3 separate regions of the Homo sapiens genome follow, and all the other regions are linked to region 1. Evidence: promoter capture Hi-C in human tissues and cell types (Jung and others, 2019). All regions are on one chromosome and are shown on one strand. The core of a region is centred on a gene start or on the middle of the fragment in contact, and the rest is flanking DNA. Distances in the headings are between cores, read along the strand shown. Region 1 holds the start of PCMTD2 (protein-L-isoaspartate (D-aspartate) O-methyltransferase domain containing 2). Region 2 holds the start of NPBWR2 (neuropeptides B and W receptor 2). Region 3 holds the start of SOX18 (SRY-box transcription factor 18).

The links. The method cuts DNA at HindIII sites, captures the fragments that hold promoters and counts their contacts. A contact is called where the count stands out against the background at its distance.
Region 2: a contact is called between the fragment with the promoter of NPBWR2 here and the fragment with the promoter of PCMTD2 in region 1, in 3 of the 25 tissues and cell types used here (IMR-90 fibroblasts, dorsolateral prefrontal cortex and lymphoblastoid cells).
Region 3: a contact is called between the fragment with the promoter of SOX18 here and the fragment with the promoter of PCMTD2 in region 1, in 2 of the 25 tissues and cell types used here (heart left ventricle and mesendoderm cells).

What each region holds. Positions count from the first base shown.
Region 1 is chr20:64,253,856-64,258,624 of GRCh38, reverse strand. It overlaps PCMTD2 (protein-L-isoaspartate (D-aspartate) O-methyltransferase domain containing 2), which reads right to left and starts at 2,877. Exons shown (of 6, transcript NM_018257.3): 1 at 2,755-2,877. The HindIII fragment of the contact is 11,329 bases long and covers 1-4,769 here.
Region 2 is chr20:64,105,573-64,109,942 of GRCh38, reverse strand. NPBWR2 (neuropeptides B and W receptor 2) reads left to right here and starts at 2,378. Exons shown (of 2, transcript NM_005286.4): 1 at 2,378-2,579; 2 at 3,021-4,370. The coding sequence starts at 3,112. The coding sequence ends at 4,113. RefSeq lists a silencer at 163-346 and an enhancer at 2,330-2,830. The HindIII fragment of the contact is 24,186 bases long and covers 1-4,370 here.
Region 3 is chr20:64,046,906-64,051,388 of GRCh38, reverse strand. SOX18 (SRY-box transcription factor 18) reads left to right here and starts at 1,750. Exons shown (of 2, transcript NM_018419.3): 1 at 1,750-2,230; 2 at 2,427-3,807. The coding sequence starts at 1,873. The coding sequence ends at 3,223. RefSeq lists promoters at 1,610-1,870, 973-1,870, 765-1,873, an enhancer at 1,198-1,879 and a silencer at 2,011-2,060. The HindIII fragment of the contact is 20,169 bases long and covers 1-4,483 here.

The sequences.
Region 1 (4,769 bases), core at 1,628-4,127:
GGATTTCATACACACCCACGTACACAACTGGAGACAGCGGTGGGAGGTTTTCCCAGGAATGAAAATAATCACATAGTTTCTTACAAGTGAACAAAAAGTGTGAAGGGTATAGCTTAACACAAATTCTCTTCTATTTTTATGGTGGAACACTCAATCTTCACACTCAAGATTTTAGAGCTGAATATTAGGTTTTGCAAATCAATAGGATGGTCCAGTCATTAAATTTTCACACCCTTTTTGAATTTTTTGAATTGTTTCGGAGCCCTTGTTAGATTACGGTCCACAGCCAGCTGACTTAGACTTAGATGGAATTAAGTCCTAATGAGGTCAACTTTAATCCTGGATAAGCCACTCAGTTCTGAGGCTGCACCCTAGCCTACCACAGTCATCTTAAAATTTGGGTCAGTGGTTAAAAGCGGAATCATGTGTTTGGATGCTTAAGGGTCTATTTAGGAAAAGAGCTGGAAAATCGCATACCGTCCTCAGTCAAAGCCACCTCTTCACCCAGAAGCCTGTATATAATGTTCCAACATTGTCTCAATGCCACATCTCTAGAAGGTAACCTCAAACTGTATGTTGGATAGGTTTCATTTTCCACTAAGTAACTATCACTTATTTTGAACTCTGCCTTAATTTGAAAGTTCAGACAGCTTTTTAGTAAAAACAAGCACCTTTTTCCAGGTACCACCTGCCAGTCATGGCCTCATTTACACTTCACAACATTAAGAAGCAAATTGGAGCTGGCCGGTTAATTTGTTCATGATCACATAGCCAGTTTGTGAGGAGGGGGCTGCATTCAAACCCAGGACTGTATGGCAAAAGGCCTGTGTTTTTAATACCACACCAGTGCAGCTTTTAAAAATACTCAAGACAGCAACGTTCTTTACCACACAACACACCGGTAACCTTTTGACGATGGGGTAACCCTATCTATACCTATTGCCACTGGTAGGATCCATGTGAATAGCTGTGGGGTCTGATATTTATTACCATCTTTGTCTGGTAATCTAACACTCCCTCGCACTGAAAACCATCGATATGATCAGTCATGATGTCACCAAAAACACCGACAACAAAGCTCTTCGCCAAACCAAATCCTATCATTTTCACCCAGATTCTACAATCTGGTCAAATCCAATTTTTCAAAGTAAAAGTGTAGAATCATTTTTAGAACGCTGCACTCGATGATACTGTGCACATTGTCTGCTGTAATTAATCCTTAATATAATTCACTACTCTGTGGTAACTAGCAACAGTCCATAACAACCTGGCTGCTCCTTACAATGCGAACTGCCAGGGCACATGAAGAACACTTGCTGAGTGGCGACAGGCATGGGAAGGTCTCAGAACTGACACCTGAGTTGTGATTGTGGCTGTGTCAACACAAGCATGAAGCTATGGTAGTGGGGTTTTGGGAGGCGACATACGGAAGATCACATTCCAACTTGGATGTCACTTCTTTAGGGTAATATGGACAAAGTAATTCATTGTGGAAGATGAGTGGGGAAAAGGACCCAAAGCCACATCTCCTTTGGGCAGAATGATCAAACAAACACACAAACAGATTTCTCACCTTGAAAACCAGAACTCTTACAAGCAATGCAAAGGGACTTTTTTCAAATACAGATGGTCTCCGACTTCGGATGGTTCGACTTCAGGTTTAACGATGTGTTTACTGGGATGCGACCCCACCGTAAGCCGGGGAGCACCTATACTTGAAAGGCTGTCACATGTACACTATTAATGGGCCTAACAAAAGCCAGACCAGTGGTACATGTTGGAGACAATGCCTACTAAATACACAGAGAAGCTTTCTAACAAATGAAGTTGCAATGAATGAAAGGAGCTCTTGATAAGCCCAGCCAAGTTCCACTGGAGGTACGAGCTGGGGTGGCGCAGGGAGCAAGGCCCTGGATCGGTCACCTCTGAGGTCTCCTCTCATCACCTGAGTGTAGGGCTCTATTTCCCCCAAGCGTGGCCACAACAATTTCTGAGTTGCTTATAGGCACCTCAACTTCACTCATTCTTGAATGACAGTCTATCAAACGCCCAGATAGGAGCTGTTTAGCCATTCCCTTGAGAAGAAAAATGAAAACTATTCTAGTCACACGAGTAAAGAGGGGGTGGATAAAGAGGGCGTGGATATTTAGGTGACTTATTTGAGGTGCAACGCTGGAGCAAACATTCATTTAGGAGACACGTCCCTCTCACAAAAACAAAACAAAGGCCCGAAGCTCAGGCAAGTTCTCCTTCCTCCAACTAACAAAGATCTCTTTCCATGCGTGAATTGAAGTCCCAGTGCTCTGCTCCAATTCTTACTATCTCCAAGGCACGGGGCGGGGGGGCGCAATTATTTTTTTAAAAAATCCTGTCATCTTCTGAAAGGGTCCAAGGCAGACTTTGTTCTAAACCTTAGCTCTTGGCTTGCCTTGGAACTGCAAACGTTTCCCACTTGGGAAGTCAAAGACAAGCTGCAGGTCTGGACTAACCAGACCCAAGAGTGTGAGTGAGCAACGGGCACCGGGAGAGACCGACGGGAAACCGCGAGCGCTCGGAGAGAGAAACGCGGGACGCCCTGGAGGCCGCTGGGGGGAGGTGAGGGTGCCCGAGGTGGGGAGGAGCGACGCCCCCAGAGGAGAGCTCCGGGCGCAGGGGTGCCGGGGGTGGGGAAGGAGGAGGGAAGGGGCCGAGGGGACACACCACCCGCTCGCCGCAGGCCGGACCGAGGGGCGGCGGCGGCGGCGGCGGCTCTACCTCCAGGCTCGGCCGGCCGACGGGTTCGGACCGCCTGGGCTGCCACCTGCAGCTCCTCGGGCGCGTCCCTCGTGTGTCCGCGGCCGAGCAGCGCCGCTCCAACCTCGGCCGCCGTAAACATCCGCCGCCGCCGCCGCCGCCGCCGCCTCTGCGCCTGCGCACAACGGCCTGACTGCGCATGCGCCGCGGGCCTGGCACTTAAAGGGGTGATGGCGGCGCAGGGCGGGCCCCACTCCCCTGGGCTGCCTGCGTCCGCCCGCCCCGCTGAGAGCTCGCTGAGCCCTAGGCCGGGTCCGAGTCTCGCGGGCGCGCCGTCCGCGCAGTGCTCAGCCAGGACGGACCCCGCACGGGCTGCCTCAGAAGCCCTCCCTAAGGGTCACCTGAGACGCCTTTGCTGACCCACGGCTGGGGGCGTTCCGCATCTCCAGGGTGCCCTGCGGCTGCTGACTCGGGGCCGGCGCTGCCCTCGGGCGGCCTCCCAGCACCAAGCACAGCCGCCCTGGGACCCCCGCCCTGCCACGCGGACGGCCACCCGGCCCTGGGGCCCTCCTACCCAGCCGGCTTTGTGAAATCAGCTGTGAAAGGAAGATATCCTGGGCCCCCAAGATCACTAAGGAAAACTCCAGCAGGAAACTGCTTAGGGCAGGCCTGCTTCCCATTCCATTCAAAGTCACTCCTCTGCTCACTTAGATAGATACATATCTGATTTGCCTCCTTTGAAAAGGCAAATGAGAAACTCAAAAGAATTTAACCGTTGGTGTCTCACCTATCTGTGGCCTGGACGCTCCCTCCCCGCTTGGAGTCTTCCTGCCTTTGCTTCAAGTTGTCCCGTCTTTCCAGACCGAACCGATGTGCTTCTTACATGTATCGATGGATGTATCCTGTCTCCCTAAATGTATAAAACCAAGCTGTGCCCCGACCACCTTGGGCACATGTCAGGACTTCCTGAGGCTGTGTCACGGGCGCGTCCTCACCCTTGGCAAAATAAACTTTGTAAATTAACTGAGACCTGTCTCCCATTTTCTGGGTTCACACAGCCCATTGCCCAAACTTCGCGTGGGGCTTTGCAGATAGGCTGTAGCTGCAGAACCCTTTCTTCAAGCACAGCCATGCAAGCCGCCTCATATGTGCAAGTGCCAGCGTCGCTGGGGCGGACGAGTGGGCCTGGGTCTCCGGTTCCCGCCTCCCTCCTAACTCGGCATTCCTCCCCAGACCCTGGAGCTCCACTTAGGAGCAGAGTTTGAAAACCAAAGGCCGGTGCCTTCACCACGTTATGTGGTCCCAGGGAGACCTCACTTCTCTTGTTGATCCATGGTCCTGGATCCACGGACCTGAGGTGGCCCACCACCTCATGACCTTCATGGGGCTCTCAGTGTCCTTCCACCTGAGAGCTTGTGGTTATTTGTGACTGTTTCAAATTACAGAAGCCCTGGAGTCATCCTTGACTCTCTTCCTACTGCCAGGGGACACGTCCTCCATACATCCCTCCTTGCCCTGTCCCAGCTCCCCTCACCTCTCCCCACCCCTCCCACCATTCCCCTGGGCTCTGGCGAGTGGTCCTCCTAAAACAGGTGATCACATCACTGCTGTCTTCAGACACTCCCTTTGTTCCTGGACCCAACTGAGGGTCGGGCTACTACTTCTCCTGGCCCAATAACAAGATGCAAATGAGCTGGAGAGTAAGAGAGGTTTTATTTCTGTAACCGGTTACAAGGAGAAGGCCTGGAAATTATCACCATACCAACTCAAAATTACAAAGTTTTCCAAAGCTCGTATACCTTCTAAGCTGTATGTCTACATGTAAGTGTGCATTCATCTACAGACATAAGTGATTAACTTCTTTTAATCTATGACTAAGGTTGAGTCCTGAAGACCCTCTTCTGGAGCCTCAGTAAGTTTACTTAATCTAAATGGGTCTAGGTGCTGGGGTGATTACCCTTATCTTGTCTCCTGCTAAATCATAATGATATGGGGAATTCCTTTAGACCCCCATAAACTTGTTTGTGGAGGCCTGG
Region 2 (4,370 bases), core at 1,129-3,628, 150 kb after region 1:
TGGTGCCAGACCAGCCTTCAGGACAGGCTCAGGAGAGCAGAGCTAGAGTCTGGGAGGGGCTCCGATTCCCAGACTCACCAGATACCGGTGGAGGGAAGAGGACCCAGACTCGTGGTTGGCTTCAGAGGAAGCCAGACACACAGTGGGATCTTTGCATGGGAAGATTCTGTGCTCTGAGGGATGCCTCTGACACTGGGCTCCCCACTACTGAGGCTTAAGGGAAGACCCTCCTGGAACACCCTGCTCTGAAGAAGGTGTGGGTGGCAGTCGGTATCCTGCAGGGCAAAGACCAGCAGGGGTGCCCAGAGCTCAGGCCACACGGGGGTCACTGGGCAGGCTGCCAGCCAGCCCTGGGGGGCAGAGGAAGGCACCGGCACTAGCCTGGGCCCCTCCCAAAATGCATGGAAGGGAGAGGCCCCCAGCAATGCCCCCAGGGAGGCCCAGAGTCAGGCAGTGTGGCCAGCCCCACCCCAGGACAGCAGCTCGGTGACAGCAGGCCCCCAGGGAGGCCCAGAATCAGGCCAGCGTGGCCAGCCCCACCCCAGGACAGCAGCTCGGTGACAGCAGGCCTGGGACATTCTCCCAGTGCCCGGTGCTGAGGCCATGGTCGGCCGCTCCCCAGCCAAGACCAGTGACCGCCTGGCCCAGCCCACACCCTGGTCAATGCCTGGGCCACCACATGCCAGGCCTGGCCTCTCTGTGTCACGCCTCTGGTTTCCAGGAGCTGTGAACTGACCCCTCCCGACCCCACGAACACCCCAAATCACAAAATTCAGCCCCAATGCACCCTCTCCTCACGGCTGCTAATCACCATCCCCTGACCTTGTGGGCGTCAAGCTCCACTTATGTGACAAACTGTGGCTACAAGCCCCACGCTCCCTCGAGACACACCCACAGATCCCCCCCACCGCCATCCCCAAACTGGCTGAAGAGGAGTGTGAGATATCTCAGCAGGGTTCCCTGACCCCGGACTCAACATCCACATGGCACAGCCCATAGAAGGGTAGCTCGGGGCCCACCCACAGTGTACCCTCAGGCTGGCGACATCAGGGTACTCAGGGCGACTGCCCAGGCTCCTGTCCTAACCAATAGACTTGACAGAGCAACTCTCAGGAAAGAAGGCCGACCATGAGTGTGCGGTGACATCCTTGCAACCCCACAGGCAGCGGGCACAGTCTCGATGGGCAGACACATCTCCCCAGACTGAAAACACACAGTGACCAGGCACGGTGGGTCATGGCTATAACCTGAGCACTTTGGGAGGCTGAGGTAGAGGCTGAAGCTCAGGAGATCGAGACCAGCCTGGGCAACATGGTGAAACCCCGTCTCTACAAAAAAAAACACAAAAATTAGCCAGGCATGGTGGCACATGCCTGTAGTCCCAGCTACTTGAGAGGCTGAGGTGGGAGGATCACCTGAGCCCAGGGAGGTCAGGGCTGCAGTGAGCCATGATAGTGCCACTGCACCCCAGCCTGGGTGACAGGGCAAGACCCTGTCTCAAAAAAGAAGAAAGGAAAGAAAACACAGACCCTCTGACCCAACACGTCTCCGCTGAGGAGCGGCTCTGAGACTGGCGACTGCTCGTGTCAGCTGTGGCGTTGCCTGCAAAGCAGGTCCAGATGCGGCCGAGCTGCACACACACGGGTTGGATAAGCCAGGGTGCGTCCAGCAAGGAAGAAAAGCAGGGAGAAGGGAAGGACTTAAAGACCAACCCAGAGCAGAGTGTGATGCTCACCACCTCTGCAGGACGGCGGGAGAGTTACGTGTCAGCGTGAGAACGTCTTCTCTGCAGCCTTTCACAGCTTGCCTAGGCTGAGTTCCTCTTTTAGCAAAAGACAAAAAAAGAAGGTGGGTTGCCTATGGCCAACAAGTTCTGCTTCCACATGAGGGCATACAGACCCCCCAGATGCCCACACTCAGCCAAGGACATGTAGACCCACTCAGATACAACGCAGAGCTCACCCACAGAGACCCCCATACAGGCAGACACAGGCCCACACACGTACATGTCCTAACTGGCACACACACACAGGAACACACCATGTACACACACAGGGTGGGGCAGGAGACCCACCAAGACACCCATGTTCACAGATAAGGGTGCCCAGGCCCACAGTGACTCCCGGACAGAGGCACAGATGCCTTCAGTGCCCTCTGCCCGAAGACCTGGGCACACCCAGAGGCCCCTGCATGGAGTCCCTTCCTGACACACAGGCGCACACGTGCCTCAGCCGCCCACTGAGGAGTCTGCCTGGGTAAGTGAATGCTGAGGAGACCCTGGGACAGCCGACTGCAGGCGCTACTGCAGCTCAGGGGAAGGTGGGGCCTGCCTTCCGGGCTCCACGTCAGCAAGGGGGATCCGCCTCCCTCCCTCACCAGCATCAGCACTGACACCAGGCTGGGAACCTCGCAGCCGGGGCTGAGGCAGCCAGCAGGGCAGGTCTTGAAACTCCTGAAACCTCAGCTGGAGGTCTGTCAGTGAGGACCACACCTCGCCCTCCATCCCTGCGACTGCCTGTACTGGCCAAAACCAGGAACACACCAAGGCTACCAACTTCTGGACTCGAAGCACTGGACAGGTCAGTGGAGAGAAGAGTAGCTGGACCAGCAGGGTCTGCAGCATCTCTCGGGAGGGTGTGAGGGAGGGTGCAGACTCCAAGACCCCTGAGGGAAGGACCTTCAGATTCAAGGGAGCCAGAGATGAGCTTGGGAGGTGTGTTTCCAAAGGGACCGCTTGATTCTACGCAGCCCGTGCATCTGCGGGTTGCTGGGGCAGGGACGGATCCACATCTCTTCCCAGGAGGGTGGCCAGCAGCTGCTCTCTGCGGGAGGAGGGAACTGATCTGCTGAAGTCTCACCAGGAAGAGGCGGGAGGAGGCCCCCACACACCCCACCAGGCTCCCTCTGGCCCCATGTCCTTGACCTGGCAAAGTGGCCGCAGTCTCTGCCAGAGAACCTGGAGTGGCTGTGCCCTAACAGACGGCCGGATCTCAAAGTCTCTGGTTGTTTTTCTTTCCTAGAATCCAGCCCAAGGAGGCCCCCAACCAGATACCCAACTCCAAGGCACCTCCCACCTGCCCAGGGCGCAAATCGTCAACGGTCCCAGCTACAATGCAGGCCGCTGGGCACCCAGAGCCCCTTGACAGCAGGGGCTCCTTCTCCCTCCCCACGATGGGTGCCAACGTCTCTCAGGACAATGGCACTGGCCACAATGCCACCTTCTCCGAGCCACTGCCGTTCCTCTATGTGCTCCTGCCCGCCGTGTACTCCGGGATCTGTGCTGTGGGGCTGACTGGCAACACGGCCGTCATCCTTGTAATCCTAAGGGCGCCCAAGATGAAGACGGTGACCAACGTGTTCATCCTGAACCTGGCCGTCGCCGACGGGCTCTTCACGCTGGTACTGCCCGTCAACATCGCGGAGCACCTGCTGCAGTACTGGCCCTTCGGGGAGCTGCTCTGCAAGCTGGTGCTGGCCGTCGACCACTACAACATCTTCTCCAGCATCTACTTCCTAGCCGTGATGAGCGTGGACCGATACCTGGTGGTGCTGGCCACCGTGAGGTCCCGCCACATGCCCTGGCGCACCTACCGGGGGGCGAAGGTCGCCAGCCTGTGTGTCTGGCTGGGCGTCACGGTCCTGGTTCTGCCCTTCTTCTCTTTCGCTGGCGTCTACAGCAACGAGCTGCAGGTCCCAAGCTGTGGGCTGAGCTTCCCGTGGCCCGAGCAGGTCTGGTTCAAGGCCAGCCGTGTCTACACGTTGGTCCTGGGCTTCGTGCTGCCCGTGTGCACCATCTGTGTGCTCTACACAGACCTCCTGCGCAGGCTGCGGGCCGTGCGGCTCCGCTCTGGAGCCAAGGCTCTAGGCAAGGCCAGGCGGAAGGTGACCGTCCTGGTCCTCGTCGTGCTGGCCGTGTGCCTCCTCTGCTGGACGCCCTTCCACCTGGCCTCTGTCGTGGCCCTGACCACGGACCTGCCCCAGACCCCACTGGTCATCAGTATGTCCTACGTCATCACCAGCCTCAGCTACGCCAACTCGTGCCTGAACCCCTTCCTCTACGCCTTTCTAGATGACAACTTCCGGAAGAACTTCCGCAGCATATTGCGGTGCTGAAGGGCCTGGGCACCATCACCCCCATCATCATGCCCATCATCACCCCCCATCATCATCACGCCCATCATCATCATGCCCACACCCCCATCAGGCCCACCCCCCCCCACCCCCACCACCACCCCCACCATCACCCCCACCACCACCCCCATCATCACGCCCATCATCATGCCCACCCCCATCACATCCACCATCACGCCCACCCCCATCACCCCCACCCCCACCATCACGCCCACCATCACCCCCACCCCCACCCCCAC
Region 3 (4,483 bases), core at 501-3,000, 210 kb after region 1:
GCTTCCGCCAAGTGGTAGCCCTTTGGGGTCTTCGCACGGCTCCCCACCCCCCCTGCACCCTCCTGCCAGCTGCCCAGGAGGCCCACCCACACTGAGACTCGGCCAAGGGTCCAGCCACCCATACTGAGATTAAAGGAGGACTAGCAGCATCCGGCAGAGGCCTGTGAGCCCCTCCATCCCTGTGGCCACAACCCTGCCTGCCTCCCCAGAAAAGCCAGGGGCCGCACCTCCTGGTGCCCCACGGGCCCCCCATTAGCCAGCACTGGCTCAGTGTCTGTGAACGAGGTGCTAGGCCCGTGGGGCAAACTGGAGGGACGGGAGATCTGGAGACCAGACTGGGAGACCCAGCCCCGTATGCTGGGACGATGGGCGTCGAGACAGACTGTGATGTGGGGCTTTGGGGAGGGCTGGACACCGACCGCGACAGCCCTCGGTGGGAGTGCCCCTGTGGGGGTGCTGGCCTCAGGGCAGGAGTGCCCCTGGGGACAGTTCAGGAACAGCCTCTAAGGGGCACTGCAAGGCCCACGTGGGGCCCACCCCATTCATAACACAGGCTGGATGTGGCCTAGCGAGGCTGGCAGGGACAGAGAACCAAGAGCTTCTGGCCACACAGGCTCAGGGTCACAAGACCTGTGGCCTCTACCCATGGGGCTCCCGGCATAGTGTGGCGGGGGGAGCTGGGGAGCCTCCAGGCTATGAGGAGATGTGCCGCGAGGTGGCGAGATTCTGACCCTGCCTGGAGGGCTGCTGGGGACACCCAACCCTTCTCCAGTAGAACCATGCGTGGCAGTGGGAGGGGAGGACCTCCAGAGGGAGACCCTCAGCTCTGGAGCCCAGATCCCCTCCTGATGGAGTAGGAAGGGGACAGTGAAAATTCAGGAAGCTGGACGCTCCTCCGGAACCCGCCCCCGCCCAGGTCAGAGGGTCCAGGGAGGGGCCAGTGGGAAGGACCCAGGTAGGCCCTGCCTCTTGCTGCAGCGGTGGCCTGGGCTGGGCAGGGGAGCCAGCAAGCCACTGAGGGTCCCAGCCCCTTCCCCAAGGGCCCTTGGGGGGCAGGGAGGACGCCACAGCCTCTGCGTCCCTGCTCCCCCTTCTCTTTGTGGGCTCCGTCCAGGGCCTCTGCTCTCTCCCTCCCTGTGTCAGCTTTGCCTTGTGCCAGAGTTGGTTTGGGAGTGAGGACAGAAGACCATCTTGTCCCATAAAGGCACTCAAAGTCCCTGGTGCTGACGGTTACACATGGGTGTAGAGTTTCCAGCATGGGCGCCCCTGGGGACTCAGAGCGCCTCCCCAAAGACGGGGCCTTTTCTGAAGGCGCTGCACTCCAGGAAGGACTTACCGGCTGTTGGGAAGGCAGCCTCCCCAGAACTTGGTGTGAAAAAGGGCCCTCTCCTCCCCATGGAGCCTCCCAGCGGGGGGCGGGGAACGGCAACCAGCGGGACACTGCCGCCCTCCCCCAGTTACTGCCCGGGGGTCCGACTCCGTGGGTGGGTGGCAGCTCGCCTCCGAAAGTCTGGCAGCACCGGCCCTCATCAGCAGCCCTTTCTTTCCCACCCGGGGGGTCTCTCCTTCTGAGAGGTCGCGGGGGAGGTGGGGGGGCTGTGCGCGGGGGAGGCCTCAGCGGAATCCCGCCCGGCCTGAGAAGAAAGGGAGCCCCCGGGGAGGAGGCGGCCCCGACCCGCCCCCGCCCGCCCGCCCCGCCGCCGATTGGCCCTGAGCCGCTATATCTGGGCGCCCGCCCGGCCCGAGGCCACCGCCGTCCCCACCGCCATCCGCCCTCCCGGCCTGGCCTGCCCTTGCGCCCGGCTCCCCAGTGCCCGCCGCCCGCCCGCCGCGCTCCCGCGCTCCGTTCCGCCCAGGCCGCGCCCAGCTGGAATGCAGAGATCGCCGCCCGGCTACGGCGCACAGGACGACCCGCCCGCCCGCCGCGACTGTGCATGGGCCCCGGGACACGGGGCCGCCGCTGACACGCGCGGCCTCGCCGCCGGCCCCGCCGCCCTCGCCGCGCCCGCCGCGCCCGCCTCGCCGCCCAGCCCGCAGCGCAGTCCCCCGCGCAGCCCCGAGCCGGGGCGCTATGGCCTCAGCCCGGCCGGCCGCGGGGAACGCCAGGCGGCAGACGAGTCGCGCATCCGGCGGCCCATGAACGCCTTCATGGTGTGGGCAAAGGACGAGCGCAAGCGGCTGGCTCAGCAGAACCCGGACCTGCACAACGCGGTGCTCAGCAAGATGCTGGGTGAGCGGCGGGAGGGCGGCAGAGAAGGGGGAGAGGGCGGGGGGGGCTCGGGCCGGGGTGGGGCGGGGGGGGCAGGGGTCCCGGGCCGCGGGGTGCGGGGGCTGCGCCAAACCCTCGCGGGGCGTCCCGGGCGCACGGAGGGCTCGGCGCCCACCCGCCCGACGGCGTTCCACTCACTGGCGCCCACGGCCCGCAGGCAAAGCGTGGAAGGAGCTGAACGCGGCGGAGAAGCGGCCCTTCGTGGAGGAAGCCGAACGGCTGCGCGTGCAGCACTTGCGCGACCACCCCAACTACAAGTACCGGCCGCGCCGCAAGAAGCAGGCGCGCAAGGCCCGGCGGCTGGAGCCCGGCCTCCTGCTCCCGGGATTAGCGCCCCCGCAGCCACCGCCCGAGCCTTTCCCCGCGGCGTCTGGCTCGGCTCGCGCCTTCCGCGAGCTGCCCCCGCTGGGCGCCGAGTTCGACGGCCTGGGGCTGCCCACGCCCGAGCGCTCGCCTCTGGACGGCCTGGAGCCCGGCGAGGCTGCCTTCTTCCCACCGCCCGCGGCGCCCGAGGACTGCGCGCTGCGGCCCTTCCGCGCGCCCTACGCGCCCACCGAGTTGTCGCGGGACCCCGGCGGTTGCTACGGGGCTCCCCTGGCGGAGGCGCTCAGGACCGCGCCCCCCGCGGCGCCGCTCGCTGGCCTGTACTACGGCACCCTGGGCACGCCCGGCCCGTACCCCGGCCCGCTGTCGCCGCCGCCCGAGGCCCCGCCGCTGGAGAGCGCCGAGCCGCTGGGGCCCGCCGCCGATCTGTGGGCCGACGTGGACCTCACCGAGTTCGACCAGTACCTCAACTGCAGCCGGACTCGGCCCGACGCCCCCGGGCTCCCGTACCACGTGGCACTGGCCAAACTGGGCCCGCGCGCCATGTCCTGCCCAGAGGAGAGCAGCCTGATCTCCGCGCTGTCGGACGCCAGCAGCGCGGTCTATTACAGCGCGTGCATCTCCGGCTAGGCCGCCGGCGCCGCCCGGGTCCCTGCAGCGCTTCCTCCCGCAGCCCCCGCGACCGATCCGACCGCGTCGCTGCCGCTCTGCTCTCTCATACGCGTGTATGTTTGGTTCCATGTCACAGCCCCCTAGGAGCCAGTGATGCTCGGCCTTGCGCCCGTTCCACCTCCCAGGCCACCCTTCCTGGGCTTCTGGGCCACCTGCCCTCGGGGGGCCCCTGCGAGGGTGCCTGGAGTTCCCACGTGTCCCGGGGCTTTTCCAGGAAGCCCGAGCCCAGGACCTGTTGGCAGAGTTGCCAGGGTTACATTTTTGAAGCACCTGCTCCTTTTCTTGCAGTGTATTTTCTACAACCAGATTGTATTAATATTTTTTACTTTGCCCTTTTAAAAAATATACCTAATACAATATATTTAATTTTTAATTAAACTCTTAAACTTTTCTTCCAAGAAGTTTCAGTGATCAGAAGCGTCACTGTGGCAAAGACTTTTGCAATGTGAGGAATACAGATGTTTGCTTTCTATAAAGGAGGAGCCTGGAGCTGGGTCCCCGGACGGAGAGGCCACAATAAATCCTCGGGCCTTTCCTCTGCACACTGACATCTGTGGTGTTTGCAGGGAGGGAAAAGCAGTTCCCCAAATAGCCCTGGACGCCCCTTCCCTCCGAATCGCCCCCAGGGAGCCTGACTCCTAGCTTGAACCTCATAGCACTCCTTCATCCTTCCGTGACACATCCCAGAGAGCGTGGGTAGCAGGCATGGGTCCACACTCCCCCCCAGCCCTCCACTCCCCTCCTGTCCCACCCCCAGGTTAACTCAAGCCTATCGGAGGTCAGACTATACCAGCAATCCTGTCACACCCCCGCTAGGGTTTCATCGCCCTTGCCTCCACCTTAAAACTTCCATGCCCAAGGACTGCCCAGTACGGCCCCCTTTCCTGAGGGAGGCTGGCAGGTTGGCAGCCCACATGCAGACACAGACTCCAGGGTCTCCGTCAGCTGTTCTAACTCACCCCAGGGAGGACAGCACCATGCTACACCCACAGCGCTCCCCCCACCCGGGTGACCTGTCCAGCTCTGCCCAGAGACAGGTCCGATGGCCAAGGCAGGAGAGCACAGGCTTCACATCCCAAGACCCCCCAACTCTGGAGTCGTATCTCACTAGCCCCCAGGAGGACTGGACACCCTCTTTCTTTTTCTTTCTCTCTCTTTTTTTTTTTTGAGACGGAGTCTCGCTGTGTCACCCAGGCTGGAGTGCAGTGGAGCAATCTC